Regions from separate parts of the Homo sapiens genome. Here all the other regions are linked to region 1. Evidence: promoter capture Hi-C in 16 types of primary human blood cells and fetal thymus (Javierre and others, 2016). All regions are on one chromosome and are shown on one strand. Each heading gives the region's core, a stretch centred on a gene start or on the middle of the fragment in contact. The rest is flanking DNA. Distances are from core to core; before and after follow the strand shown.

Region 1 (4,462 bases), core at 1,194-3,693:
AGGCTGAGGCAGGAGATTCACTTGAACCTGGAAGGTGGAGGTTGCAGTGAGCTGAGATCTTGTCACTGCACTCCAGCCTGGGGGACAGAGTGAGACTCAGTCTCAAAAAATACAAAAAAGAATATACACTTGTGCCAGCACAGTACTTAGCACTAAGGATTTCTCTTTGCCACTGAATGGAAAAAACACCCTTGTTATTATTAATGATGTTATGCTTTATTGTTAACTTTATTACTAGATTATTACTTTTACTCATCTCTTCTTGCATACTCTTCTATTCTTCTGATATTTGTGTCTGTATTAGTGCCTATTTGAGCCCATCTGCTTAATATGGTACATTTTAGTATCTAATAAAGGGTGCCTGACTTTTTTTTTTGAGACGAGAGTATAGCTGTCACCCAGGCTGGAGTGCAGTGGCACGATCTCAGCTCACTGCAACCTCCGCCTCCAGGATTCAGGCAATTCTCCTGCCTCAGCCTCCGGAGTAGCTAGGATTATAGGCACCCGCCACCACCCCCGGCTAATTTTTGTATTTTTAGTAGAGACAGGTTTCACAATGTTTGCCAGGCTGGTCTTGAATTCCTGACCTCAAGTGATCCACCTGCCTCGGCCTCCCAAAGTGCTGGGATTACAGTTGTGAGCCACCGCGTCCGGTCTCCGACTGTTCTTTTAACCAGATACTGTTGGACTTTTCTCCATATGATCTTTAAGTTGTTTTATTCTGTGAGCTGGGGGCGGGGGGAGTCTTTGAATTGGAATTGCTATACTTTTGTTTAGTAGTTTTGTGAAGATTTTTTTTTTTTTTTTGAGACCGAGTACTAGGATTGCAGGCATGAGCCACTGTGCCCAGCCAATTTTTATATTTTTAGAGATGGGGTTTCACCATGTTGGCCAGGCTCATCTTGAACTCCTGACCTCAGGTGATCCCCCCAGCCCGGCTTCCCAAAGAGTTGGAATTACAGGCATGAGCCACTGTGCCTGGTCTGATACGGCCTTCATGGAGAAATTAAAAAAATACTTTCCATTCAGGAATAATATGTCAGTGTGTTCTGAACTTAACTTCAGGTCTGTTAATGAGGTTTTTGTATTTTCTTCATGAAGATCCTTTATTGCTTTTGCTAATTGATTTCCAAGTTGCTCCAACCATCACTATTGTGAGTGACAATTTAATCACTATTATGGCTTAGAATTTTTTTTCTAATTTTCATTTCAAAATTGTGAAGTATTTCAACCTGCGGAGAGGTTCGGAGAGTAATAGAATAATCTATAAATAATAAAGATGACACCCATGTATCATCGAGATTTTACCTGTGTTAACATGTAGTCAGATTTTCAGGTTTTGATTTGTTTTTTCCTATCAAGCATCACAGGTGTAACTGAGGTCTCCTTTGTCTCCTCCCCAACTCTTTCCCCTCAGTTGCCACTTTCTTGAGGTTGGACAATCTATCTGGTCCATGTTATTGTTACTTTACTACTTATGTATCAATCTCTGTATAACATATAGATTTTGTGTCTTTTATTTCCAGGTAAGTTGTATCATGTGGATAAGTGCACAGTTTACTTTTCGAACTGTTTTTGGAGAACTGTCTATCTTGTATATAAGTTAGTCCTTTTTTTTTTTTTTTTTTTTGAGACGAAGTCTCCCTCTTGTCCCCCAGGCTGGAGTGTGATGGTACGATCTCAGCTCACTGCAACCTCCGCCTCCCAGGTTCAAGTGATTCTCTTGCCTCAGCCTCCCGAGGAGCTGGGATTACAGGCGCCTGCCACCACGCCTAGCTAATTTTTGTATTTTTAGTGGAGACGGGGTTTCACCATGTTGGCCAGGCTGGTCTCAAACTCCTGACCTTAGGTGAGCCCAGTCCGTTTGTTTTAACCACCCCCTATTGCTCCGTTGCACATACCACAGTTTCTCTCTTCCCTGTCAGTAAATATTTAGGCTTCCCCATGCTAAAGTTTAAGAGAACCACTGAAAGAATGAAAATGTGTAGTTTTCATTTTCAACCGGCTATTGTTACTACAGAGGAAAGTTACTGGCTTTGTTTACATTTCTTAGATCTAGTCATTTTAACAAATTAGGCCTCCCAAAATGCTGGGATTACAGGCGTGAGCCACGCACCCAGTAAATAATTATATTGCCAATGAATAATGAGTGTACTTATTCTGAATTTTAACATTATTATCTCAAAAAAAGATTATAGATAAAGAAATATTTTAGGAAATTATGCAGTAAATAAAAGGAAGGCTCTATAACAAAAGAATGATAGCATCGGGTTAAAAATCAGAGGAGACCATAGGAGAAAGTAAATGCCTGCGCGTCCGCCCCGAGGCAAGTCCACGCCAGGGTAATGAATAACCCGGTACCCGCGGCCGCCCCAGCGTTGGGCGGGGGAAGCTCGGGGACTCCGCGCACGCGCACATCCTTGTCCCGGCAGCCGCGCAAGCGCAATCGCCCGGAACATGGCTGCCGCCGGCCGCCAACCGTAAGTGCCGACGCATCCCTGAGCCCTGCGCTGCCTCCGTTTCCTGCGGAGGGAAGTCTTGGCGGGTGGAGGTCCGCCGGGTCCTTGTGGGGCGGCGAGGGGCGCGTCCGCGGGTGGGTTTCACCTGGGTGGTGGGCATGTCGGGCCCGCTAGGGCGAGGGTCTGGCCAGGGGCGTAGTTCTCCTGGTGGGTGGGGACGCTCCGTGGCGATTGGGGTCACTCCTCTGAGGACGAGGTCGCTCCGGGGCTGGTCTGGACGCCCCCGCTCTTTCCTTAGCGTCACCCGTGAGTTCCGCGCTCGCATCTCTAGCCCGCCCTCCCATAGAGACTGTTTTGCCACGCCTGCTGGGTGTCCTGGTCCGTCTCCGGGGGTAACCCCCGAGTCTGCAGCTTTTCTGTCAGGTGTGAGGGGCAGTGTAGGCTTGGGTCGGCCTCCGGCTGAATTGGCGGCCGTGAGCCAGTGGGCTGAGCCGCTTCCCCTTGAGTCTCGAAGGTGTTAGATCACCTGTGTGTTTTTCCATTTGATATTTGCAAAATCATGTTTTACTGCAATTCTCAGTGAGGGCCGCATTTTTGCACGTGTTTAGTGACCATTTTGCTGTCTTTTCCCTTGGTTTAGTGGCATATTTCCTTTGTGCAGTCTTCCAGTCTCAATATTTTATGACATAAAATGTTGGTTTAGATAGAGAAGCTGAAAGACTTGTGCAGTGAACGACCCGGTTAACGTCTGCTGAACTTACTGTATCCCTTATCTTTCCTTCTGTCCATCCTTTCAGCCATTCATTAATCCACCTATTTTTGGAAACATTTCAAAGTAAGTTGCAGATATCACAACACTTCTCCCTCAAACACCTCACTATGCTTACCATGAATTAGAGTTCAGTAGTGCTTTTTTAAATTTTTTGAGCCAAAATTGACTTTCAGTGAAATGCACAGATATTCCCTGTACCATTGATGAATTTTGACAAATGCAACCTAAACCTTTATTAAAATTACCATCAGCCTGAAAAGGTCCTTTATTTTTTGCCAAGTTAAAAAATTTGGCTATAGGAACTTGGGCTTGTTGAAGTACGTTTTGAATACCCAGTTTTTGTCTGTTTTTTCTTTTTTCCCACAGCAAGTGACTTTCCTCCATTCTACTGCTTGTTTACCTCTCTCTTCACCCAACTTTTCATTTTGAAAAGTTCCGCATTTGCATAGAAGTTGCAGGAATAGTTTAACACTTCTAAAACCATCCAGATTCTAAAATTATTAACACTTTTTGCCACATTAGCTTTATCTTTATCTTCTCCCTGCCTGAGACACATGCATAGGTGTTACCAGAAAGGGGGTCCCGAGCTATAACCCAACAGAGGGTTCTTATATCTTGGGAAAGAAAATTCAGGGCGAGTCCATAGAGTAAAGTGAAAGCAAGCTTATTAAGAAAGTAAAGGAATAAAAAAATGGCTACTCCATAGATAGAGCAGCCCCAAGAACTGCTGGTCGCCCATTTTTATGGTTATTTCTTGATTATATGCTAAACAAGGGGTGGATTATTCATGCCTACCATTTTTAGGCCATATAGGGTAACTTCCTGATGTTTCCATGACATTTGTAAACTGTCATGGTGCTAGTGGGAGCAGGACCAGAGGTCACTCTCGTTGCCATCTTGGTTTTGGTGGGTTTTAGCCACCTTTACTGCAAGCTGTTTTATCAACAAGGTCTTTATGACCTGTATCTTGTGCAAATCTCCTGTGTTATCCTATGACCTAGAATGCCTTAACTGTCTGGAAATGCAGCCCAGTAGGTTTCAGCCTTATTTTACCCAGTCCCCATTTAAGATGGAGGTTTGCTTTGGTTCAAACGCCTCTGACATAGGGTTTTCTTTTTATATTTTACACACACTTGTACACACAGCAGGTGTTGCAGAGGCAGGTGTGATACAGACATATATTTACATACACTTAGTTTTTTTGGCTGAGTTACTGGAAGTATGTTATAGA
Region 2 (4,462 bases), core at 894-3,393, 1.6 Mb after region 1:
CTCTTGCTTTTACTCAGACACACACATGATCTTTCTCAGACTCCAGGGAGCCTCATACTTGTTCATCTTTCACACAGGCACATCTATTTCTCTCACACATTGATATACCCTGGTCTCACACTCTGGATTCTCACAATCCAGTCCCTGATAACACACTCAGGTGACAAAGAGGAAAAACAAACTGTTTCTCCTACTCCACTCACACAACACAAAACAGTTCTAAGACCAGATGTGTGGGGATCTACACACACACACACACACACACACACACACACACACACACCAGGCAAGCAATAAGTTCTTCAGTGAATACCAGGTGGGTGACCTCTAGGGCAACCCAGTGAATACCAGGTGGGTGACCTCTAGGGCAACCCAATTCTGACACTATCTACCTGGAGACAGCATAAGATCCCACAGGTTGAGGGCTCAGCCCTACAAAATTGCTCCCCACTTCCAATGCCAGTTGCAAACCCCAGGTTGTTTTACTTGTGCTTCTGACTAGCTATAAATCGGGGTTCCTATGACCCCCTCCTTGCGTTCAATTAATTTGCTAGGGCAGCTCACAGAACTTAGGGAAACACGTTTGTAGTAATAAAGGATATTACAAAGGATGCAGGTGAAGAAATGCATAGGACAAGGTTATATAGGAAGGGGCTCATCCTACAGGAACCTCCAGTGTTCAGCTATCTGGAAGTTTGATGAACCCAGTCCTTTTGGGTTTTTATGGAAGCTTCATAATGTAGGCATGACTGGTTAAATCACTGACCACTGATGATCAGTTTAACCTGTGGCTCCCTTTCCTTTCCCTGGAGATTGAGGGATGGGGCAGGTAATCCCAACCCTCTAATCCTGCCTAGATTGTTCTTGTGACCATCCCTTACCGTGATCAACCTACAGGCTGCCAGCCCACCAATCATTAGCATGCAAAAAGACACTTAATACTTTGGAGATTCCAAGGATCTTAGAAGTCGTAAGCCAGGAAACATAACTTTGTCCTATACTTTGATCGCCTCCCTCTCTCTCACAAACTCATAACAACATAACCTAGTCTCACTCTTTGGACTCTCACAGTTTAGTCTCTTTCTCTCTCTCATACACACACACCAGCCTCTCAAGGAGCCTCACATAATGACTGGTCTTTCACACACAGCCACGTGCTCATCTCTCTCACACTCACTGGTCTCACGCTATGTTGTCTCTCACACACGAACACACCCTGGTCTCACACTCTGGTCTCTCTCAGTCTGTCAGACACACATAACACGGCCTCACACACTGACGGGTCTTTCACCCAAAACACCCATTTCTCACACTCACTGGTCTCCCTTTCACACATTAACATACCACAGTCTCACACTCTGTTCTTGCACAGTCTAGTCTCGCATACATGGTGATTCTTCTCTCTCTCGAACACACACCGGCCTCTCATTGAGCCTCACCCACCGACCGACCGGCCTTTCACACACAGGCACACGCCCATCTCTCACACTCACTGGTCTCTCACACTCCATCCAGCCCGTCTCACTCTCTCACACGAATACATCCTGGTCTCACGCTCTGGACACCTGGTCTGTTACACACTTACACACCCACACACCTCGCAACCTCTCACTGAGCTTCACACGCTCTCTTTCAAATGCAGGCACATCCCTATCTCTCTCACACTCACTGGTCTCTCACACTGGCCCGTCTCGCTCTGTCACACACGAACATACCCTGGTCTCACACTGGACTCTCGGTCTGTCACACACACACACACACACACACAGAAACCACACCCTCTCACGGAGCCTCACACTCTGACAGATCTTTTACACACAGGCACACCCCCATCTCTCCCACAGCTCACTCCAGTGGTCCCGCCGCCCCAAGCCGCCCCGAACGCCCAGCAGCCCCGAGCCGCGGCCTCCGCCCCGCAGACTCGAGTACGCGCGCCCCGCTGGCCTCTGGGAAATGTAGTCGTCCTGGGGACAGAGGACGCGGCTGGGCCTTCGCGACCCGCGTCGGAGCCGCCCGCCTCGCCTGCCCTTCCTGGCCCAGCCCTCGAGCTCGGACTCCCAAACCACCCAAAACAAACCCCCGGCCTCGTCTGGCACCCAGACGCTCTCATCCGAAGGACTCCGTGAGTCGACGCTGGAACCCCCCATCGCGCAGGCGCCAGCCTCTCTCCAGGGGTCGGACGAGAGGGGCGGAGACAAGGCGTGGCCTAGTGTTGAGGGGATTGTCCTCGGGCTGCTGAAGGAGTGAGAGGGACCTTAGAGCAGAGCGGGCGGTGCCTGCGCAGTGCGTGATTACGCGAGCCGGGCGTGGCCCAGGGTTCCGGCGGGTAAGAGCAGGAGTGTGCGCAGGCGCAAAGATTGCGCTCTCCCCCTCTCCTCGCCTAGAGACCAGAAGCGTCCCTAGTTACTAGTTCCTGGGGCCTGGGAGGGAAACGCGCGACGGCTGAGCCTTCGGTGTGAGTACGCGTGGGGCTTTGTGACGCTGTCTGTGCCTCTGTGATCGCGATGTCATTCGGAGCGCGGCCTTCTGTGCCAGTCCGTGGGAGTGTCATTATCTTTCTGTGTTAAGCTTATTTTGGAATAAGACAGCGACGAGGAACCCCGACCGTGTTGTGACTCTGGCGAATTAATACCTCTTTCAGCTGCAAATGGGAATGTCACTGATCAGAGGCAGTGAATAACACGACGTTTTTGGAACCAATCTGCTAGGCTTGAACCGCGTTCAGCCCCTTAACAAAATGGAAATGGTCCCCGTTTTAGGGGACTAGCCCTGACTAGGAGAACTGTAGAATTAGTATTGGAAGGTGAGACAAATAAGGAAAAGCAATTCAGGGGGATACAGCAGAGAAAAAAAAATCCCTGTCCTCTTATTATGTAATTTACTTTGAAGCGGAGAGAGACAAGCCACAAATTCATGAGTTAGATAAACAGTCTGATGAACAGTAAAAAGGGCTATGGAGAAATATAACTCAGAGAAGGTTGTATCGTATACATTTTTTCTATTGTCTCTTATAATGTCTTAACATGTCAAAAAAACCTGTCTGCAGCAGACACCAGCCAGGTGACCGCTACTCCAATTCAATTCTGACGCTACCTGGAAAACATCAGATCCTACAGGTTAGACAGCTCAGTCCCAAAAGACTGTCCCCCACTTCCCATGCCAATTCCAAACTCCAGATTGTTGTACCTGTGTTTCAGAGAGATGTGCTATAAATTGGGGCTCCCACAGCCGGCTCCTTGGGTTCCATTAGTTTGCTAGAGCAGCTCACAGAACTCAAGGAAACACTTATGTTTACTGGTTTATTATAAAAGATATTTTAAAGGATACAAATAGCCAGATGAAGAGACATGTAGGGCAAGGTCCGAGAGAATCCCTAGTGCAGGAACTTCTGTGCCCGTGGAGTTGGGGTGCACCACCCTCCCAGCACGAGGATGTGTTTTTGTCTACCTTCTTGGAAGCCGCTTGAACTCAGGCCTTTTCGGTTTTCAAGGTTTCATTATGTAGATGTGATTGATTAAATCATTGGCCACTGGCGATCAACTTAATTTTCAGGCTCTCTCTTTTCCCAGAAGTAGAGGGTGGAGCTGTGAGTTCCAGTCCTCTGAGCACATGGCTGGTTCCTCTGGCAACTAGCCACCACTCCCCCCAAATATTGGGATTATCTTGAGAGTTTCCAAAAATCACCTCATTAACATAAACTCATGTGTGGTTGAAATACTGTCTTTCACCTTTATGGCTCTGGAGCTGTTCTGGAGCTTTTTCAGGAACCAGGAACAAAAGGCCAGATATTTTAACAAAAGATACTTTATTGCTGCAGTCATTTAGGAAATTAAAAGAGCTGTAGGAACTGAGAGCCATGAACTGTACCTTTCTTTCTAACTCCACATTCAGTGATGTCATATTGGTAGATTGAAATCCACCACAAGGGGACTATTTACAGTATGGAAATACAGTCTACATCGCTAAAGGATGGAGATACATTCTGAGAAATGGGTTCTTAGGCAATTTCCTAAGAACCTTGTTGTGCAAACATCATAGAGTGTACTTACACAAACCTAGATTGTGTAGCCTACTACACACCCACACTCACTCAGACTGGGACAACTTAGACATACCAGTTAACTTACTGTGCACATCTTTGGGATGTGGGAGGAATCTGGAGTACCCAGAGAAAACCCATGGAGACATGGTGAGACTAGTCAGATTGCATTAGGACCCACCCTAACGACCTCATTTCAACTTAATTAACTCTGTAAAAATCCTATATCCAAATACAGTCACATTCTGAGGTACTGGGAGTTAGGACTTCAACATGCAAAATTTGGGGCAGACAAAATTCAACCAATAACAAGAGATTATTTTGATTCTTCTGTCCTCATTCATCCCACCAAGGAAGTAAGGGGTATTTCCATTATCATACTATATATTAAATTATCATTACATTACATATATAATGTTTTCT
Region 3 (4,462 bases), core at 651-3,150, 1.6 Mb after region 1:
GGAAAAAAGGGGGCCTATTGAAGGACAGGGATGAGCTATTTGAGGGATAGGTAGCCACCTGTTTTGTAACTGAAGTTTTACTGGAACACAGCCCATCCATTCATTTACATATTGTCTTTGGCTACTTTAGCTCTATAAGAGCAGAAAGGAGTAGATGCAGCAGGACTTTCAAAGCCTAACATATTTTCTGCTGTGGCCTCATCCAGCACAAGTTTGCCAGCCTCTGAGCTATTTCAAATACCAATGATAGTCAAAAAAGACTAAGAATTGAGCACTGCATCTGGTAATGTGAAGATCACAGTAACCCACTCAAGAGCAGTTTGGGTAGGACAACTGGAAGCTGGTTCATCTGTACATATATTTTTTGAGGCCTCAGTGGAAGTGAAATGGTTCATCTATTAATGAGCTAGCTATGATATTTATAGGAGAAGCCAACCGAAACAAACACAACTATTTACTGGCATGTTTTAAAGCCACAAAATCAAGTGGAAAAGCCTTTCATATTGCGCCTCCTCTCCCTAAAATGTTGTCTTTCTTTACTGTGCCTCCCAAACATCTTCTCTCCCTTCAAGGCAAGGCTCAAAAATCACCTCCTTGGTAAATAGGCCTACCCTTCCGCTACAGGAGGCTGGAAGCCAGGAGCGCCTTGTAGTCCTCGCTCATAATACTTGGCCCAAGGATGATCACATTCTAGAATCTTGCTTGTTTCCTTGACATTGGGTCAACAGGCTGTGAGCTCCAGAGCAGGGACTAGGGCTTAGCTATTGGTTTGCTCAGTGGCTGGCACAAAGTGGTCACCAAACAAACCATGTATAGCAGAAGAGTCTGCCGTGTTCCTCAAGGGGCACAATTCCTCCATCAGAGTCCCTCTGAGAAAAGCGGTACAAGGGAGAGGCTGAATCATTTCATCAATCAAGAATGAAGGCTGATTGGGATGAAGAAGAAGCAGGCATCGAGGCCCCGGGCAGTTTAAACTTTTCCCCGTAGCCCATCACTTCACTAGAACGTGAAGAAATAGAAACCCGCGCCCAAACAGGTCTCTTAAACTGAAAACTTTCAAGAAAATAAGCAACATTAAGTCCCGAAAAGCAAGACTGCATTTCAGAGACAAGAGATGAAATGCCAACTCACCTGGGACATGGCTTTAGGTTCAATTCCTGTCCCCACAGCCTCCAGCTTCTTGTTTCTCTCCTGGGGAAGAGCAGTGTCCCTGGAAGGCAGAGCTGAAAGAGAAAGGAGTAGCTAGAGACCAGGTCTACACCACAGTCCCAAATCACCAGCCTAGAAACGTCCCTTCCTGCATGAAAAGGTGGGATCAGATCATTACCCTGCCTAGGGACTGCCACAACGTGGAGATAGGTTTTTTTCCTCCCTGGGAGCACGAAAACAGGAAAAGCGTCTAGTTAGAGTCACCCTGGGAAAGTCAACACCCTTTTACCGCGGCTTGCTGCTCTGAATCAGTTGAGCTTCCAAATCTTCAGATTCTCCCACTCCACCAGCTTCAAAGACCAGGGGCACAGTTCTCCAGCAACTGGTCCCCGAGAGCCCAACCCCCTCCCAGATCTCATCCCGAGATGAATTCGTCCCTGTCCGCTCGGCCCCAAACACCTGTCACTCTCACCTCTGTGCCCAGGCCCCGTAGGGGCCGCTCCTCGCTGGCCTTTGGATGCGAGGCCATTCCTTGAGCGCGGCCTTCCCCGGGCAGGGAGGGCCAAGGTGGCTGGAGTCCCTACAGTCGGGCCTCGGCCCGCCCGGGGCTTTGTGCGGGGGGCGCCTCTACCCGGGAGCGGCGTCGGCTCGCGGACACTCGCGCTCGCCGCCCCCCGCATGTCACCCGAGGCCGCGCGACGCCCTTCCGACCGGTCCCTCACAGACCCACACCCCTGGCCACACCCGCCCGCCACGCCCAGCGAACAGCCCCGCGCGCGCTCCCCCATGGCCCGGCATCCACTGGGCCGCGCCGCGGAGCCGCCCCGCCCCCGGCCGCGCCCCGCCCCTCCCCACCCCTCCCCGCTGCCCCGCCCCGCCCCGCCCCGCCCCGCCCCGCCCCGCCCCGCCCCGCCCCGCCCCGCCCCGCCCCTCAGCCTAGAGAAGCCCGGCGCTTCCCACTTCCAGTGCGCAGGCAGCGCCGCCGGAACCGGGCGTGGCCTCGGCGCAATGCCCGCTGGGAAGCGTAGTCCCAAGCAGGGACGGATGCGGCGGCCCTCGGAGCTCAGGTTGCAAGATACGGTTTGGCCCCGGGCCTATGCAACGCCCGTCCGTCCTGCCCTCTGCGGGTCGCTCTCACTTGTCCCTGGACCGCAGCCGCCGCATAAGTGGTGGCCAACGCTGGGCCTGGGTGTGGCCGGAAGCAGAGGCCGCTCTGACTACACACCCACCCCCCAAAGGCTTCTGGGAGTCGCGCAGGCGCAGCGGCAGACCGGGTGAGGCGGGGCTTGCGGCGAGGGGTGGGACCGCAGGGCCGGAGTAAAAGGGTGCTTGGCTGTGACAGGTGCTAAGGGCCTGGGCGTCAGCTCCTTGCGGGAGCGTCACTGCCGACCGGGAAGGGAAAGGCAATCTTGGGGGCCTCCGGAGTCCGGAGGATCACTCTGATGGGTGATGTGTGTGGGCTAGGAAGGGGGATGTAGAGAGCTTGTGGGATTGTTTTGGGTGCCCCCTCACCTTCTCCCATTATCTCTGGCTACACGGGCCTCCCATCCTCCAAAATACCATTTTCCATTTTGTAACCTATGTATTTGCACGTCCTGGGTCGAAATAGTCTAACCCCAAATTTTCGTCTGGGCTGGCTCCTTTATGCCATTCACTTGTCATCGCCTCAGAGAGGGCTGCCTAACGTCTCAAAAATACCAGCCCTGGCGACCTCTTAAAGTTCCCTTCCTGTGTGAATCACGGTCTGAAGTTAGCTGATGGATTTATTCTTGAACATGTTTAGGACCGGTCTCTCCCCCAGGGGCCTTATCAGAACTGGAGAGCTTCATCCTGGGAGCCAAGGGCCTTGCTGGCTCACAGGCAGTGATGCTGTTACACCAGTCATCACAGATGCACTGACCTCTGCACGCCCAGTCACACTGCACGCCTGGTCTCCTTACTCTTGAATTGATTTCTTTCAGGTCTCCTGGCCTCAGTGATGGAATTAAGATGACTTCTATCTCTGAATCCAAGGGTGACTGAAAGCCGCAAGCTGCAGAAAGGACAAGGTCAGCATTTCTCTCAAAGCACTTCAGTCTCATAGAAAAGGCTTAGTTTCAGTCAGGTGGACCTAGCCATGTAATAGCTGTGGCAGACACTGCTAATGGTCTCTCTGGTGTCTATTTTGCACTCCTTCCACAGCAGAACATTGATGCTCTTCAAGTGGCCATCTGCCCAGCTTATAATACTCACCTCCCCAGTCTCCTTGTAAGGAGTAGTGGCTCTGTAACCAATGAATTTTAAGTACACATTTGCTGGGGGTTTGGTGGATGTGTGGAAAGAGACACAGCTGGCATGTAACTCTGGCCTTTTGTCATCTCACACAACCTTCTTCCTGCTTGGGTATGACACAGGATGTCAACAGGTAGAACAGCTGTAGAGAGCTGGCAAAGGGATCGTGGCCAACTCAACATTCCACTGGAGGCTATATGATCAAACAGCAAACTGTTTATCATGAATGCAGAATGTGGGCAAAGTCGCTTCTGCTCCAGCCACCAGAAGGTTTGCTGAAGGCAATCACTCCCTGGTGTCATGCTCCTTGAGGTTATCTAATGGGACATCTAGAGCCTATTGGTTGACGAATGCAGTCTTGCAAGCCTGCTGTAAATCAAGCTACTGACCGACAACCACCCCCCTTCTCCCTATTCACTCTAATAAATACGAAGGGCTGTAAAGGCTCAGGGCCTGTGTTCACTGGAAGCAAGGAGCCCCCAGACCTCTTCTTCCAAATATACTCTTTTGTCTTTGTCTTTATTCCCATGTTTGTCATCCTTTGTTCAGTCCAACAAGGATAGGGTCCGCTGCAAACAGCCACCTTGGCATCATGAGGATGAAAGTTATGCTAAAGATGGCTTAGCAGAAAAAAAGAGAAATAAACAATCAAAGAAATGGTATTAGAAATGAAAAAGTGGACATAATCACAGAAATTTTTAGAATTTTGCAAATACTGTGATCACCTTATCTCAATATATTTAAAACATATGCAGGGGCTTACCATAGAGAAAATTATAAGTACCAAAACTGACTCAAGAAGAAATGGAAAATCATTAAATAAGTTCTCAGGCTTTTCCATGAATACCAAAGCAATAAATAATCCTTATCCTATAAAACTATACTGGAGAATTTAAAACTAGACACCCTTGATACCAAAACTGGACAAGGACAGTAGGGAAAGAATTTAAGTAGGGAAAGAATTCCAATCTTCAGGGACAACATACACATTAAAATCCTACCTAAAGTGACAATAAACAAAGTCCAGCAATACATAGAAAAA
Region 4 (4,462 bases), core at 923-3,422, 1.6 Mb after region 1:
TGGAATGAGGCTGGGTTGGTGTCTGGAGGGCATGGAGTGGGAATGAGAAGGGGGTAGAAGTTATTAATTATTTTTTCTTTCTCTTCCTTTGAATTGTTTCCCTGGGTGTAGAAACTTCATATTACCATCAACATTTTTGAAACACAATTTAATATAAAAAAAAATTCCTTGCAGATAGTGGTCTCTTTCACCCCTGTCCTGTGAGGTCAAGAACACTGGCCCATTTTGCCAGATCACAGCAGTGACCAGAGCCCACTTACCCAGTAGGCACAGAGCATGGGGCCCATGAAACCTTTAGGGGCCCATAGGAAGGTCTTAATTTCTTTTAAAATCATAAGAAAATATCTAATCCAGCCTAGATTACATTTGTCTTCCTATTAATGAAATAACAAAATGTAATTTTTAGTGCTTTAAAAAAACAATGGAGCAAGGGGCCCATGAAGGCAAAGTACCCTTAAAAATCATGCAGCGGCCCTGGAAGTGACTTGCCCAAGAGTATGGCCAGTGGCTGTTGAACCCAGTTTGGCCTTAGATCTGGATTCTTCTTCCTCTGAGCTTTTTGGCATTTCCTTCCTTTCTTCCATTTCCATTGTTTCCAAGCGGGGATTCCCTCGGGGAAAATCCTGCAACCTTGTGTCAGCTGAGCGGAAAGGGAAAAAAGGGATCTCCCATTTGTCTGGTGGTTAATTGTGGGGGCTCTGGAACCTGGATGCCTGAGGTAGCCTTGGGTGAGTCACTTAGTCTGAGACTCAGTTTCCCCATCTGTAAGATAAGGATGATGATGGTCTCTACCTCAGAGTTACTGGGACATCTATAAATGGCCAGCACTGGCTGCATACACATTCCCTGAACAAATCAACCTCTCCTTGGTCAGAACAGAGTAGGGCACAGAGACCCTTTGGGAGTCTGATCCCACTTTAAGAAGATCCTGTGGGAGGCAGAAGAAACAGCCTTCCTTTTCCCCTCCTCCACCCGGCCCCTGTCACTCCCAGGCCCCTACGCCTCCAGAGCCTTCTATGGGCAGGAAAAAGCCAGGGAACTGTGGGCAGGCAGACTAGGAGAAGCGTAGGGTGAGAAGGTAGTGGCTCTGCTAGGCTCCCTTGTCCAGGCATATAGTCTTTGGAAGAGGCACACCCAGACGCACCCACCCCTGCAGAGTCACACGCAAACATCAAGAAATACTCTAGACACAGGTGGACACACAGAGATAGGAAAGATCCAGACAGGACTGGCCCCTGGAAAGACACAGCCCTACACTCATGCCAAGAGACATGCATGGAAAGAGCAGACATAGTGGACACCCAGAGGGCACCCTCCCACAGAGACACTCATGGACAGAGATCAAGGCTGACACACCCACAACACCAAAGACAAGGACACAGGCAGTCACTCAGAGATATCACCACACATGCATAGGCAGAGACCTGGAGAGACACAGCTCCACAGAGAGACCAAGACTCTGAAGAAGTGGGACACACACACACACACGCTACCACACATGACCCACACGGACATACATGGACACATTCACATTCATTCACAGACCCAGCCTCTGGACGACACGCAGTTTCTCTCTCTGTCTCATACACACACACACACACACACACACACACACACACAAACACACACACACAATCACAATATCCAGAGACACAGCCATACCCTCAGGACGACACAATCTGTCTCACACACACATACAGACCCACACAGACACACACACAGACACATTCACAATATCCACAAAGACACAGCCTCATCCTCAGGATGATATGCACTGCCTGTCTCTCACACAGGCCACCTTCCCCCCAGGATGGCCCTCGTGTTCATGCAACTTTCCTACCTCCAACCCACTCACGCCTCTCCCTCCCTGGCCCCGGCCTCTCCTCAGCCCCTCAGCCTCCAGTCAGCCTCTCCTTAGCCCCTCAGCTTCCCCTCAGCCTCTCCTCGGCCGCTCAGCCTCTCCAGGCGCACCTCGGTCCCGGCCTGCACGCCCTCTCCTGCGCCCGCACGCCCTGGACCAGCACCCAGCCCTGCACTCCCCGTACCTGGGCCTGCACGCCGTCTCCCCGAGGCCGCGCCCTCCCCGGGGCCAGGTTCCGGCCCCCGGCACAGGTAGAGGGTGGGCGCGACCCCGCAGCCACACTCACCGGCTCGCCGCTCTGCCAGGACAATGACCGCGCCCGCTAGGCCCGCCCGACGGCAGTGCGCCTGCGCGGACTGCGCCGGACTACGCTTCCCAGAAACCCGCGCGCGCCACCTCCCCCCGGCTTTTTTCAGCCGAGCCCAGCCGAGTGGAGCCGAGCGGAGCCAACTGAGCTCCTCCATCTCACAGAGGACTCCGCGGCCAAGGAGGCTGGGGCGAGAGGGAGGATTGAGGGGGAGGAGGCAGGGAAAGGGAAGGAGAGAGAAGAGACGGAGGGAGGAAGGGTGGAAAGAAAGACGGAGGGAAAGGAGGGGCGAGGAGGAGGGACAGGAGGGAAGGGGGGAGGAGGGAGAAAAGAAGTAGGAGAGGTGGGAAGAAGGATGGAAGGGGAGGAGGGATGGGGAGGAGCGGGGAGAAGAGAGAGGATGGAGAGGGACTTGGGGAGGAGAGCTGGGGAGGAAGAAGAAGAGATGGAGAAGGAGGAGGGGTTGGAAGAAGGATGGAGGGGAAGGAGGAAGGGCTGGGGAGAGACTAAGGGAAAAGAACAGGTCAGAGAGGAGAGGAACCAACAGAAAGAAGAGGGAGCGGGTGGGAGGAGGGAGGGGCAGGGAGGCAGGAAAGGAAGAGAATGGAGACGGCAAGGAGGAGAAGGAAGAAAGGGTGGAAAGGGGGATGAGAAGGTGGAAAGGACTATAAGGAAGAAGAAAAGGGTGGGAAAAGGAGGAAAGAAAGAGGAAGTCGAGTTGGGGAGGGCAGGACAGGCTGAAGAGAGGAAAGAATGGGTAAGGAGAGGGAGGAGGGAGGAAGGAAAACAGAAAAGGACAAGGGATGGGTGGAGGCAGAGAAATGAGGGGGATAAAAGAGGCGTGTCACATCTGCTGCAGACATTTCTGCAGTCCAGCCAATGGACTGGCCTGAGGGACCATCCCAGGCAACTTTAAACCTGATAATCATGCTTATCTTTAAAGAACACTTTTTAAGCATACAGATGTGCAAAGAAGAAAATGAGCATAGGTGTAGAATAAAATGTATAGGAGACTATCGGTTTGGACTGAGTTCCTGCACTAGGCCCAACAGATCAAATCGAAATGGAGCTACTCATGCTGAAGTTCCAGGCCACCAACTCCAACTAAGTTGTTACCTGACCTCCTCTCAGGAGAGAAAGAGAGAGATAATAGCCAAGTCCCAAACAGGCCAGTTTAGCAGGCATGATAAAAGAAATCCCCTTTGCTTTAACCATGATAGGGAAAGTAACTTTGAAATGACCCATCCACTCTTGTTCTCTGTTTCTGCTTTCCTCAGCCCGTTTCTGTGTATGAAGCCATATTCCTCTGCTTGGATCACCAGAACACTAGTTCTATTTTATAGAAGGAGGTGTGGCTGGATTCTAGAATTGCAAATAAAAAACAACTAGATCTTTAAATGTCAATTCCCTATATCTTTAGATATAAGAAAAAAAGCATTAATCCTTGTTGTGAGTTTCCTTTGTTCTGACCCCTGGTCTCCACATTTTATGATTTATAAACAATCTTCACAGCCAAGCTACTTTCCAGATTAGTTGGGTAATACAGACAGGGGAGCTTACACAAGAGGAAAGGTAGGAACCAGATGCCTGGCTGAGACCCTTTTCTATAGTAAACCACAAAGCCAAGTTTAAAAACATTTGCTGAATGTCCAAGTGGCCACAAAACCATCAACAGCAGCTAGCCTTAGGTGGTGATTAATGATGTATTTAAATGAAATATTTTATTCTGAGATAAATGTGGATTTATTCACGTCAGGTTGTAAAACATAATATAGAAATCATACAGAGAGACCTATGTCTCTTAGGTAATTTCACCCAAGGGCAACATCTTGCAATATCACAAGTAGGATACTGACGTCGGTCCATTCAAGAGACAGAACATTTCCATCACAAGGATCTCTTCCGATATTTCCACAAGGATCCTTCATCTTGCCCTTTTATAGCCACACTCACTTTCCTCCAGACTCGATCATTAGTCTATCCTCCATATATACAATTGTGTCATTTCAAGAATGTTATACAAATGGAATCATACAGTATGTGAATGGTGGAATTGGCTTTTTTCATTCAGCACAATTCTCTGGAGATATATTCAAGTTGCTGTATAGAGAGAACTTAATTATCTTGCATAACAGAAACTTTATACTCGTTGAGTAACGTCTTCTCACCTCCCCCAGCCCCTGGAAACCACCATTCTAATTTCTGTTTCTATGAGGTTGACTATTTTAGATTCCACATGTAAGTGGAATCATAAAGTATTTGTCCTGTGACTGGCTTCTTTTACTTAGCATAAT
Region 5 (4,462 bases), core at 660-3,159, 1.5 Mb after region 1:
TGCCAGCCTCCTCTCCCTGCAGTAGGCACCAGCTCTACCTCCCCCGGCAGGCAATGTCCTGGCTTCTCAGCCCAGCACCATCTGTTCCCCTAGACTTCTCAGGGGCCAGCCCAGTCTGGGCCACCCTTTCCCTCATCCTCGGCTCCCACACAGGTGACAGGCCCAGCAGATAGCTTCTCTCTGGGAAAGGTTGGATGCTGCCTTACATCCCCTTCTATCCCTCCTCCCATCCACACACACAGGCACCCACCCACACCAGGTCTGCTTGTTTCTCACATGTAGGGAGAGGGGGGGAGACCAACCCCTTTGTGTCTTTTGAAATACGAAGAAAAATGTGTGTTCAGGAGCATGACTCCAGTGCTGGGCTCTTGGGCCCAGTTCAGTCTGTCTTGTCTCAAATCTAGGCACTTTTGCTTCAATTTTATTTTTTTTAAGAAAACAAAAACAGAAATCTGCACTAATTTACCTGGTTCTTAGGAAAACTTTTTTTTATTTTTTACATTTTTTGGTGTCCGTTTGTATTGAATAATTTGCTACATTTGTAAAATGTAAGAGGTATATATAATATATGTATATTTCTAACGTAAAAACAATTTTTTTCTTTTCAAGATTTTTTCTTAAAAAGATGAGAGAAACATATTTTTTCAGGAAAAACAAACTTTAAAAAAAAAAGAGGAGAAATAAAACCTTTTCTCCCCTTTCCCCATCCTCTATCTATCCCTGTTTCCCAGGAACAAATCAAAAGGTGGATTATCTTCTGAAGAATGGAAACTGTTAGTCCAGAATGATGTCTTTTTCTCAATGCAGTGAGTTATAGATTCTCTAGTTTTCTCCCTAGGGATGGGAAGGGGGCATTGACGCAAGCCTGGAGAGGAGCCCGGGGAGCAGGGTCATGAAGTTTTTTCTTCAGTGAAGGAGGAATACAATCAAGGGTTTTGTATTCAGAATGTTGTGCAATATTTTGGAATAGGACATTGGTGTGTTTAGAGATTTTAGTTTAAAAACAAAACAAAAAGATTGATCAAATCTGTACAGTTTCTATTGTTCCAGATTTTTTAAAGTTTGTATTAAAAGCATGATACATAATAAAAATAAATAAATAAATAAAACTAAAAAGTAAAATGAAATTCTTCATCTATGTTAATGGATTTGCCACCTTCTTTGCCATAGACTGGAATGACATCAGCTACCTGAGACCAAAATAAAAGTGTGGGTTGCAAACCCTGGCACCTACCTTTTTAGATTCCGCAGCCTGCAGTAGGGACTTAGCCTGTCTGAACCTCAGCTTCCTTCTTTCTTCTTCTTTTTTTTTGAGACGAAGTCTCGCTCTGTCACCCAGGCTGGAGTGCAGTGGTGCGATCTCAGCTCACTGCAACCCTCGCCTCCCAGGTTCAAGCCATTCTCCCGCCTCAGCCTTCCAAGTAGCTGGAAGTGCATGCCACCATGCTCGGCTAATTTTTGTATTTTTAGTAGAGACGGGGGTTTCGCCATATTGGCCAGGCTGGTCTCGAACTCCTGACCTCAGGTGATCCACCCGCCTCGGCCTCCCTAAGCGCTGGGATGACAGGTGCCCGGACTCAAGTTCCTTCTTTCTAAGCCTGTGGGCTCGGCCTCATCCCCTGAGCAAGAAAAAAGTCCCACCCCTGAGTTACTGGAAGCGCCCACCGCCATGCACTGAGGCTGTAGTGGGCGGGGCTCGGGGCAGCAGCCCGGCGCTCCTCGGGCCCCCAGGGGTCAGCGCCCTGCGGACCTAGCGTGTGCAGACGCTTAGCCTTCTGGGAGTTGTAGTTTCGATGACCCAGGCTTTGCAAGCTTTAGTCGCGGTGCCGGCGAGCGCGCAGCGCCCCCTGGGAGTCGTAGTTCCTAAGAACCAGGCGGGCCCGATGCGCAGGCGCAGTCCACCCCGGCCTGGTGCGCGGGCTCCTCCGCAGCAGCAGAAGTCTTGACCTTAGCTCGTCTAAGGAAGGAGGCACCAGGGTCTGCGTTGGCCCAGGAGGACCCGAGACTGAGTAGAAGCGGAGCCGACTGCACCAGGCTAGGAGGGGGCCGGCCAGCGCGTTCGAAGGTGATACCGGGAGGCGAGAGCAACGGTGTGTAGTGTGCGCGTGTTCCTGCAGGTGTGTGACCGCGTGTGAGCCCGTCCCCGAGTGCCATTGTGTCTGCACCTGTTCACTTAGCGGTGTCAGCCCGTATAGGTGTGTGACTGCCTGTGAGCCCGTCCCTGAGTAACACAGCGTCTGCACCTGGTCACTCGACGGTACCAGCAGGTGCAGGTGTGTGACTGCCTGTGAGCCTGTCACTGCATCTGCACCTGCTTACTCGGCGGTGCCAGCCCGTCACTGTGTCTGTACCTGCTCACTTGGCGGTGCCAGGCCGTGCAGGTGTGTGACTGGCTGTGAGCCTGTCCCTGAGTGTCACAGCGTCTGCACCTGCTCACTCGACGGTACCAGCAGGTGCAGGTGTGTGACTGCCTGTGAGCCCGTCCCTGAGTGTCACAGCGTCTGCCCCTGCTCACTTGGCGGTGCCAGCCCATCACTGTGTCTGTACCTGCTCACTCGGCGGTGCCAGGCCTTGCAGGTGTGTGACTGCCTGTGAGCCCGTCCCCGAGTGTCACTGTGTCTGCACCTGCTCACTCAGTGGTGCCAGCCCAGGCAGGTGACTGCAGGTAAAGGCATGTAACACTTTATCGGTGTGTTATGTGCTCGTTCATGTGAAGCGGTGTCTGCATATCACAGCATGTCACATACACGTGTGGCTGCCTTTGGGCAAGTCTGAAAGTTCTCCTGGATGTGAGGTGTGTGACCCCACGTGTGCATGTCTGGGTGTGCCGCCGTGTAGGCTGGCTCGGCCCGTGTGCCTGCCAGCACAATGATGGGTGACCTGGCTGTGCGAGCCTGTAGAGTGCCGTGCTGTCTGAAGTGTGTGCATCTGCACATGATGGAGACGCTGCACATGTGGGCTTTGGCTATGCTGGAGCTCTATCCACCGAGTGTGACTGCACATGTGTCCAGCCATCCCCTGTGGGTGTGTCCCAGTAATGGCCGGCCTGTGTGGAGCAGGTGGCATGTGTGACCTTGTGCGTCTCTGTGCACCTCTTCACACAGGGAGCTACGTGTGGGGCTGGGTGTGTGTGTAGCTACGTGTGCCCGGGACCCTGTGTGCATGTGTGAGTGTGGCTGCAGGTGATGGCTTCCCACCTGCCTCCTTGCATGGGGGTTAGGAGGGCGACTGTGTGTCCCTGGATATGGGTTTGGGTGTCTCTGCATGTCTGTGTGTGTCTGGGCAGGTATGATTGTGTATGACCCTGTGTGTGTCAGAGTGTGATGTAATGCATGTGTCTTCCTGTGATCTTGTGATATAATAAGAAATATATGTTTAATCTTTATCCCCAGCTCCTGGTACCAGAGCCCCTAAAACCCTTGGAATTTCCTGAGTGACAGGGGTAGAAGGAGTGTCTTCTGCAACTCTTAATAAGCCCCCTGCAACCACACCTGTGTTTATGCTAATGGAGGACTCCTGATAGGCCCCCAAGTACATTTATGCTAATGGAGGACTCCTGATAGGCCCCCAAGTACATTTATGCTAATGGAGGACTCCTGATAGGCCCCCAAGTACATTTATGCTAATGGAGGACTCCTGGTAGGCCCCCAAGTACATTTATGCTAATGGAGGACTCCTGATAGGCCCCCAAGTACATTTATGCTAATGGAGGACTCCTGATAGGCCCCCAAGTACATTTATGCTAATGGAGGACTCCTGATAGGCCCCCAAGTACATTTATGCTAATGGAGGACTCCTGGTAGGCCCCCAAGTACATTTATGCTAATGGAGGACTCCTGATAGGCCCCCAAGTACATTTATGCTAATGGAGGACTCCTGATAGGCCCCCAAGTACATTTATGCTAATGGAGGACTCCTGGTAGACCCCCAAGTACATTTATGCTAATGGAGGACTCCTGATAGGCCCCCAAGTACATTTATGCTAATGGAGGACTCCTGATAGGCCCCCAAGTACATTTATGCTAATGGAGGACTCCTGGTAGGCCCCCAAGTACATTTATGCTAATGGAGGACTCCTGATAGGCCCCCAAGTACATTTATGCTAATGGAGGACTCCTGGTAGACCCCCAAGTACATTTATGCTAATGGAGGACTCCTGATAGGCCCCTAGGATGGGCTGGTTGCCACGGGAGCTAGCCCTGATGAGCATTCCAGCCTTCAGCCAGCCCCTACCTCCTGGGAGGGGAGAGGGCTGGAAGTTGAGTTCATCACCGATGGCCAGTGTCATCACACCTATGTCAGTCACGCCCGTGTCATGGAACCCCCATAACCACCCTAAACTTAGGGTTTGCCGAGCTCTGGGGCTGTCGAGCACCCAGAGAGGGCATGGTGCTCTGAGCTCCTCCTTATACCTTACCCTGTGTGTCTTCCATCTGGCTGTTCCTGAGTTGTATCCTTTATT
Region 6 (4,462 bases), core at 1,228-3,727, 1.1 Mb after region 1:
GCTGGGCTGGTCTCGAACCCCTGACCTCGGGTGATCCGCCCACCTTGGCCTCCCAAAGTGCTGGGATTACAGGTGTGAGCCACCGCGCCTGGCCCAGAACAGCAAGTATTTGAGGCTTTGCAGGCCACACAGTCTACTTAACTCTGCTGATGTAACACAAAGCTGCCACCAGGTGATGTCAATGAAGGCGTGACCATGGGCCAACACAGCTTTGTTTATGGAAGCCAAGATTTGAATTTCATATAATTTGCACATATTATGAAATATCATTTTCTTTTCTTTGTTTCTCTTCTTTTTTCTGTTCTCTTTCTCTCTCTTTTTTCTTTTCTCTCTTTTTTGAATAAAGAAAGGGTCTTGTTCTGTCACCCAGGCTGGAATGCAGTGGTGCAACCATAGCTCACTGAAGCCTTGATCTCCTGGGCTTAAATGACCCTCTCACCTCAGCTTCCTGAGTAGCTGGGACCATAGGTAAGTGCCAACACACCCAGTTAATTTTTTAACTTTTTTTTTTTTTAAGACATAGTTTTGCTCTTGTTGCCCGGGCTGGAGTGCAATGGCGCCATCTTGGCTCACTGCAAACTCTGCCTCCCGAGTTCAAGCTATTCTCCTGCCTCAGCCTCCCGAAAGTAGCTGGGATTATAGGCATTCACCACCACGCCCAGCTAACTTTTGTATTTTTAGTAGAGACGGGGTTTCATCATGTTGGCCAGGCTGGTCTTGAACTCCTGACCTCAGGTGATCCGCCCACCCCGGCCTCCCAAAGTGCTGGGATTACACGCCTAAGCCACCGCACCCGGCCAATTTTTTAACTTTTTGTAGAGATGTGGGGGGTCTCACTATGTTGCCTAGGCTGGTCTTGAACTCCTGGGCTCAAACGATTCTCCTGCCTCGACCTCCCAAAGAGTTAGGATTACAGGTGTGAGCCACTGTGCCTGGCCTGATTTATTTTCAACAATTTGAACATATAAAATCCATGCTTAACCTGAGGGCCGTACAGAAGCAAGCGCTAGTCCATATTTGATTCTGCCAAACGCTGCTCTAACTCTGCAGCTGGCTTTCAGTAAGACACATGGAAGTGTTAGATAAAGAGAAAAAAAAAAAAAACAGAAAAGTTCTGCCAGGGAACCCAAGACATTAAATTCCCCTGTTGACTGGGGCGAGGGACTTTAAGCTGTTCCCTTTACACCACAGGCTCCAAAAGGGAGTAGTCTGAAGCCTGGACACACTTATCCACAGACTCATTTGATTTGGTCAGCATGGTCTTTAGGAAGGAATAAATACATGACCTTCTTAAACATAAAATTTGGAAGATTTCACTTAAAGGAATCCAGATTTCTGGGTTTTGTGACCCATGTTCCTATGCGGCAGCCACAGGTTGGAGCAGAAGAGCAGGGAGCCCCTTTATTTATTTATTTATTTATTTTTATTTTATTAATTTTTTATTTTTTTGAGACGGAATCTCGCTCTGTCGCCCAGGCTGGAGTGCAGTGGGGCGATCTTGGCTCACCGCAACCTCCGCCTCCCAGGTTCAAGCGACTCTCCAGCCTCAGCCTCCAGAGTAGCTGGGATTACAGGCATGAACCACTACACCCGGCTACTTTTTGTATTTTTAGTAGAGACGGGGTTTCACCATGTTGGCCAGGATGGTCTTGAACTCCTGACCTCAGGTGATCCACCCGCCTCAGCCTCCCAAAGTGCTGGGATGGCAGGTGTGAGCCACTGCGCCCGGCCAGGGAGCCCCTTTAGATGGGATGGGGAGGGACCTCCGATCAGGGCTGCCCACTCACTCCTCCTCCCTCTGCTTCCCTTCCCTCTTCCATCTCCCTCCCCCATCCCCCCCATCCTTCATTCATCTACCTGAGGTGCCTGACCCTGGTAGACAAGGAAGATATTAAAAATGTTTAACAAGGGTGGGGCAGTAGCCAATCCTGATGAAGCCCTGACCAATGATACACGAGCCCCAGCTGGGAGCTATTGGTACCATCTGTAGCTCCTGTGGACATTGACATTTAAATTGATTTAACCTTTTTTTTATTTTTTATTTTTTGAGACGAAGGCTCACTCTGCCACCCAGGCTGGAGATCTCGGCTCACTGCAACCTCTGCTTCCCAGGTTCAAGCGATTCTCCTGCCTCAGCCTCCCAAGTAGCTGGGGTTACAGGCGCACACCACCATGCCCGGCAAATTTTTGTATTTTTAGTAGAGATGGTGTTTCACCATGTTGGCCAGGCTGGTCTTGAACTCCTGGCCTCAAGTGATACACCCTCCCTCGACTTCCCAAAGTGCTGGGATTACGGTCCTGAGCCACCGCGTCCGGCCAGACTTATAATTTTAAAAAGGAAAAACCAGGGGCACCCCACCGCCTGGGGATCGAGGGGAGCCCAGCATAGGGAGGGAGAGGGAGCCAGGGTTATAACGTCCACATTCATACAACCTCAGCCTTGACCACTACGTGCGGATCATGGCGGTAGCGACCCGGCAGGAAACACAGCGAGCGAGCTGATTTGTGATCATGGTCGGTGCTCCGAAGAACAGACAACGAGGCGTGGAGCGCGTGCCGGGTGCGATCCTGGAAGGCTCCTCAGAGGAGGTGACATCTCGCTGGGCCTGGCGGCCCTGACGTCCAGCGGCGATGGCGGTCCATGGCCACCAGGTGGCGCCGCGAGAACGTGGCTGAAGCAGCTAGGCCGCGTTCCTGCGATCTGACTGTGCAGAGAGCTGTGGCTCCAGGTTTATCTCAAAGCATTTTTCTCAGCAGATGAACTTAGGGAGGGAGGCAGGAGAGCAAATTCCCCTCACTGCCCATGTGTCAGTTTTATTGTACCTTAACGGTAGTCAGTGCTGCAGCAGCCGAGAGCCCGGGCCCCCAAATTTGGGTTTACGGGCTGGCTCCAACCCAAACCAGCGTGTGTGTCCCTGCCATGGGCGTTTTATGTATTTATTATGTATTTGTTTTTCTATTGAGACAGGGTCTCACTCTGTGGCTCAGGCTGGAGTACAGTGGCGCTGTCTTGGCTCACTGCAGCCTCCCCAGCTTGAGCAATCCTCCTGCCTCAGCCTCCCGAGTAGCTGGGACTACAGGCCTGCACCACCACACCCAGCTAATTTTTGTATTTTTTGTAGAGAAGGGTTTTTGCCATGATGCCCAGGCTGGTCTTGAACTCCTGGGCTCAAGTGATCTGCTCACCTCTGCCTCCCAAAATGCTGGGATTATAGATAGGCATGAGCCACCACACTTGGCAATTATTTATTTATTTTTATTTTTACGGTTTTTTAGAGTCAGGGTCTCACTCGTTGCCGAGTCTGGAGTGCAGTGGCAAAATCTTGGCTCACTGCAACCTCTGCCTCTTGGGTTCAAGCAATTATCATGCCTCAGTCTCCTGAGTAGCTGTGACTACAGGTGCTCACCACCACGCCTGGCTAATTTTTGTATTTTTTAGTAGAGATGGGGTTTCACCATGTTGGCCAGGCTGGTCTCGAACTCCTGACCTCAAGTGATCCACCTGCCTCAGCCTCCAAAAGTGCTGGTATTACAGGTGTTAGCCACCGTGCCTGGCCAGTTCACTAATATTGAGATAAATCATACTCGTGTAAGACGCTACTAACAGGGGAAGCTGGGTGCAGGAACAAGGAAAACTTTCTATTCTCTTTGCAACTTTTCGCCAAATCTAAGTCGATTCTAAAATAAAAGTTGATTCTTTTTTATTGTTTATCTGAAATCCATATTTAACCAGGCAATTTGTATTTTTATTTATTAAATTGGGCAACCCCAGTGCAGAGCTAAGGGAGACAGGTGGATTCTCTAACCCAGACACACGTTTTTGAGCCATCAGCGTCTGTGATCCAAGCCGGGAGCCGGCATGAGATCCCGAGTGAGGGAGAGTGATGGAGACCATGGCGTCTGGAGCCGGAGATGCAGGGAGGTGAGCGAGAGCTGTCCGAGCAGTGGCTGAGGGTGTTCACTGCTGGCCGACTTAGTCTCTCCACACCTCAGTACTCTTCTCTGTAAAATGGACACTAGAATCACGCCTGCCTCACGGGCTTTTGGGAAATGCAATGCCTTTGATGGAGTATTTATTGCTGCATCAGGTGCACAGGACGCAGACAGAGTTAACTTACTCCCGAGTTCATCCCATCCAATTTCTTCATGGACGTGTGTCCACAGATACACATACAGACATGTGCCCAGGGAGACATAAGTAGAATATATGATGCAAATTTATGTTCATAATTATAATTTAATGTTCAAATATATTCATACATGTATATAAAGTATAGATACACAGTTAATTCTGTATTTAAATATATCTTGGTATAATTTTATCAATATGGCTTTTTTTTTTTTTGAGACAGCGTCTCACTCTGTCATCCAGGCTGGAGTGCAGTGGTGCGATCACGGCTCACTGCAACCTCCACCTCGCAGGCTCAAGCGATCCTCTCACCTCAGCCCCCTGAGTAGATAA

The links. Contacts are between HindIII fragments. The CHiCAGO score rates a contact against its expected background, and 5 or more counts as called.
Region 2: the fragment with the promoter of ZNF471 here is called in contact with the fragment with the promoter of ZNF329 in region 1 in 5 of 17 cell types (naive B cells, naive CD8 T cells, erythroblasts and 2 more); the score reaches 5.9 in naive B cells.
Region 3: a contact is called between the fragment with the promoter of ZFP28 here and the fragment with the promoter of ZNF329 in region 1, in 4 of 17 cell types (naive CD8 T cells, total CD4 T cells, monocytes and 1 more). The highest score is 9.0, in naive CD8 T cells.
Region 4: the fragment with the promoter of ZNF71 here is called in contact with the fragment with the promoter of ZNF329 in region 1 in 2 of 17 cell types (activated CD4 T cells and non-activated CD4 T cells); the score reaches 7.3 in activated CD4 T cells.
Region 5: a contact is called between the fragment with the promoter of ZNF835 here and the fragment with the promoter of ZNF329 in region 1, in 12 of 17 cell types (total B cells, total CD4 T cells, non-activated CD4 T cells and 9 more). The highest score is 19.9, in total B cells.
Region 6: a fragment that was not itself captured here is called in contact with the fragment with the promoter of ZNF329 in region 1 in 7 of 17 cell types (naive CD8 T cells, total CD8 T cells, activated CD4 T cells and 4 more); the score reaches 13.0 in naive CD8 T cells.

What each region holds. Positions count from the first base shown.
Region 1 is chr19:58,148,770-58,153,231 of GRCh38, reverse strand. It overlaps ZNF329 (zinc finger protein 329), which reads left to right and starts at 2,443. Exons shown (of 4, transcript NM_024620.4): 1 at 2,443-2,480. RefSeq lists an enhancer at 2,307-2,366. The HindIII fragment of the contact is 7,703 bases long and covers 1-3,896 here.
Region 2 is chr19:56,505,536-56,509,997 of GRCh38, reverse strand. It overlaps ZNF471 (zinc finger protein 471), which reads right to left and starts at 2,143. Exons shown (of 5, transcript NM_020813.4): 1 at 2,078-2,143. The HindIII fragment of the contact is 1,838 bases long and covers 733-2,570 here.
Region 3 is chr19:56,536,386-56,540,847 of GRCh38, reverse strand. It overlaps ZFP28 (ZFP28 zinc finger protein), which reads right to left and starts at 1,900. Exons shown (of 8, transcript NM_020828.2): 1 at 1,622-1,900; 2 at 1,132-1,223. The coding sequence starts at 1,829. It overlaps ZFP28-DT (ZFP28 divergent transcript), which reads left to right and starts at 2,114. Exons shown (of 3, transcript NR_183967.1): 1 at 2,114-2,423; 2 at 3,111-3,197. The HindIII fragment of the contact is 11,931 bases long and covers 1-4,462 here.
Region 4 is chr19:56,593,012-56,597,473 of GRCh38, reverse strand. It overlaps ZNF71 (zinc finger protein 71), which reads right to left and starts at 2,172. Exons shown (of 4, transcript NM_001370215.1): 1 at 2,046-2,172. It overlaps ZNF71-SMIM17 (ZNF71-SMIM17 readthrough (NMD candidate)), which reads right to left and starts at 2,172. Exons shown (of 5, transcript NR_163263.1): 1 at 2,046-2,172. RefSeq lists a silencer at 1,821-2,210. The HindIII fragment of the contact is 22,646 bases long and covers 1-4,462 here.
Region 5 is chr19:56,669,204-56,673,665 of GRCh38, reverse strand. It overlaps ZNF835 (zinc finger protein 835), which reads left to right and starts at 1,909. Exons shown (of 2, transcript NM_001005850.3): 1 at 1,909-2,090. LOC105372473 (a long non-coding RNA gene) reads right to left here and starts at 1,687. Exons shown (of 4, transcript XR_936110.4): 1 at 1,235-1,687. The HindIII fragment of the contact is 4,177 bases long and covers 1,815-4,462 here.
Region 6 is chr19:57,097,558-57,102,019 of GRCh38, reverse strand. No RefSeq gene overlaps it. Among named protein-coding and RNA genes, the nearest start is that of USP29, 20 kb to the left of the region's middle. The HindIII fragment of the contact is 7,444 bases long and covers 1-4,462 here.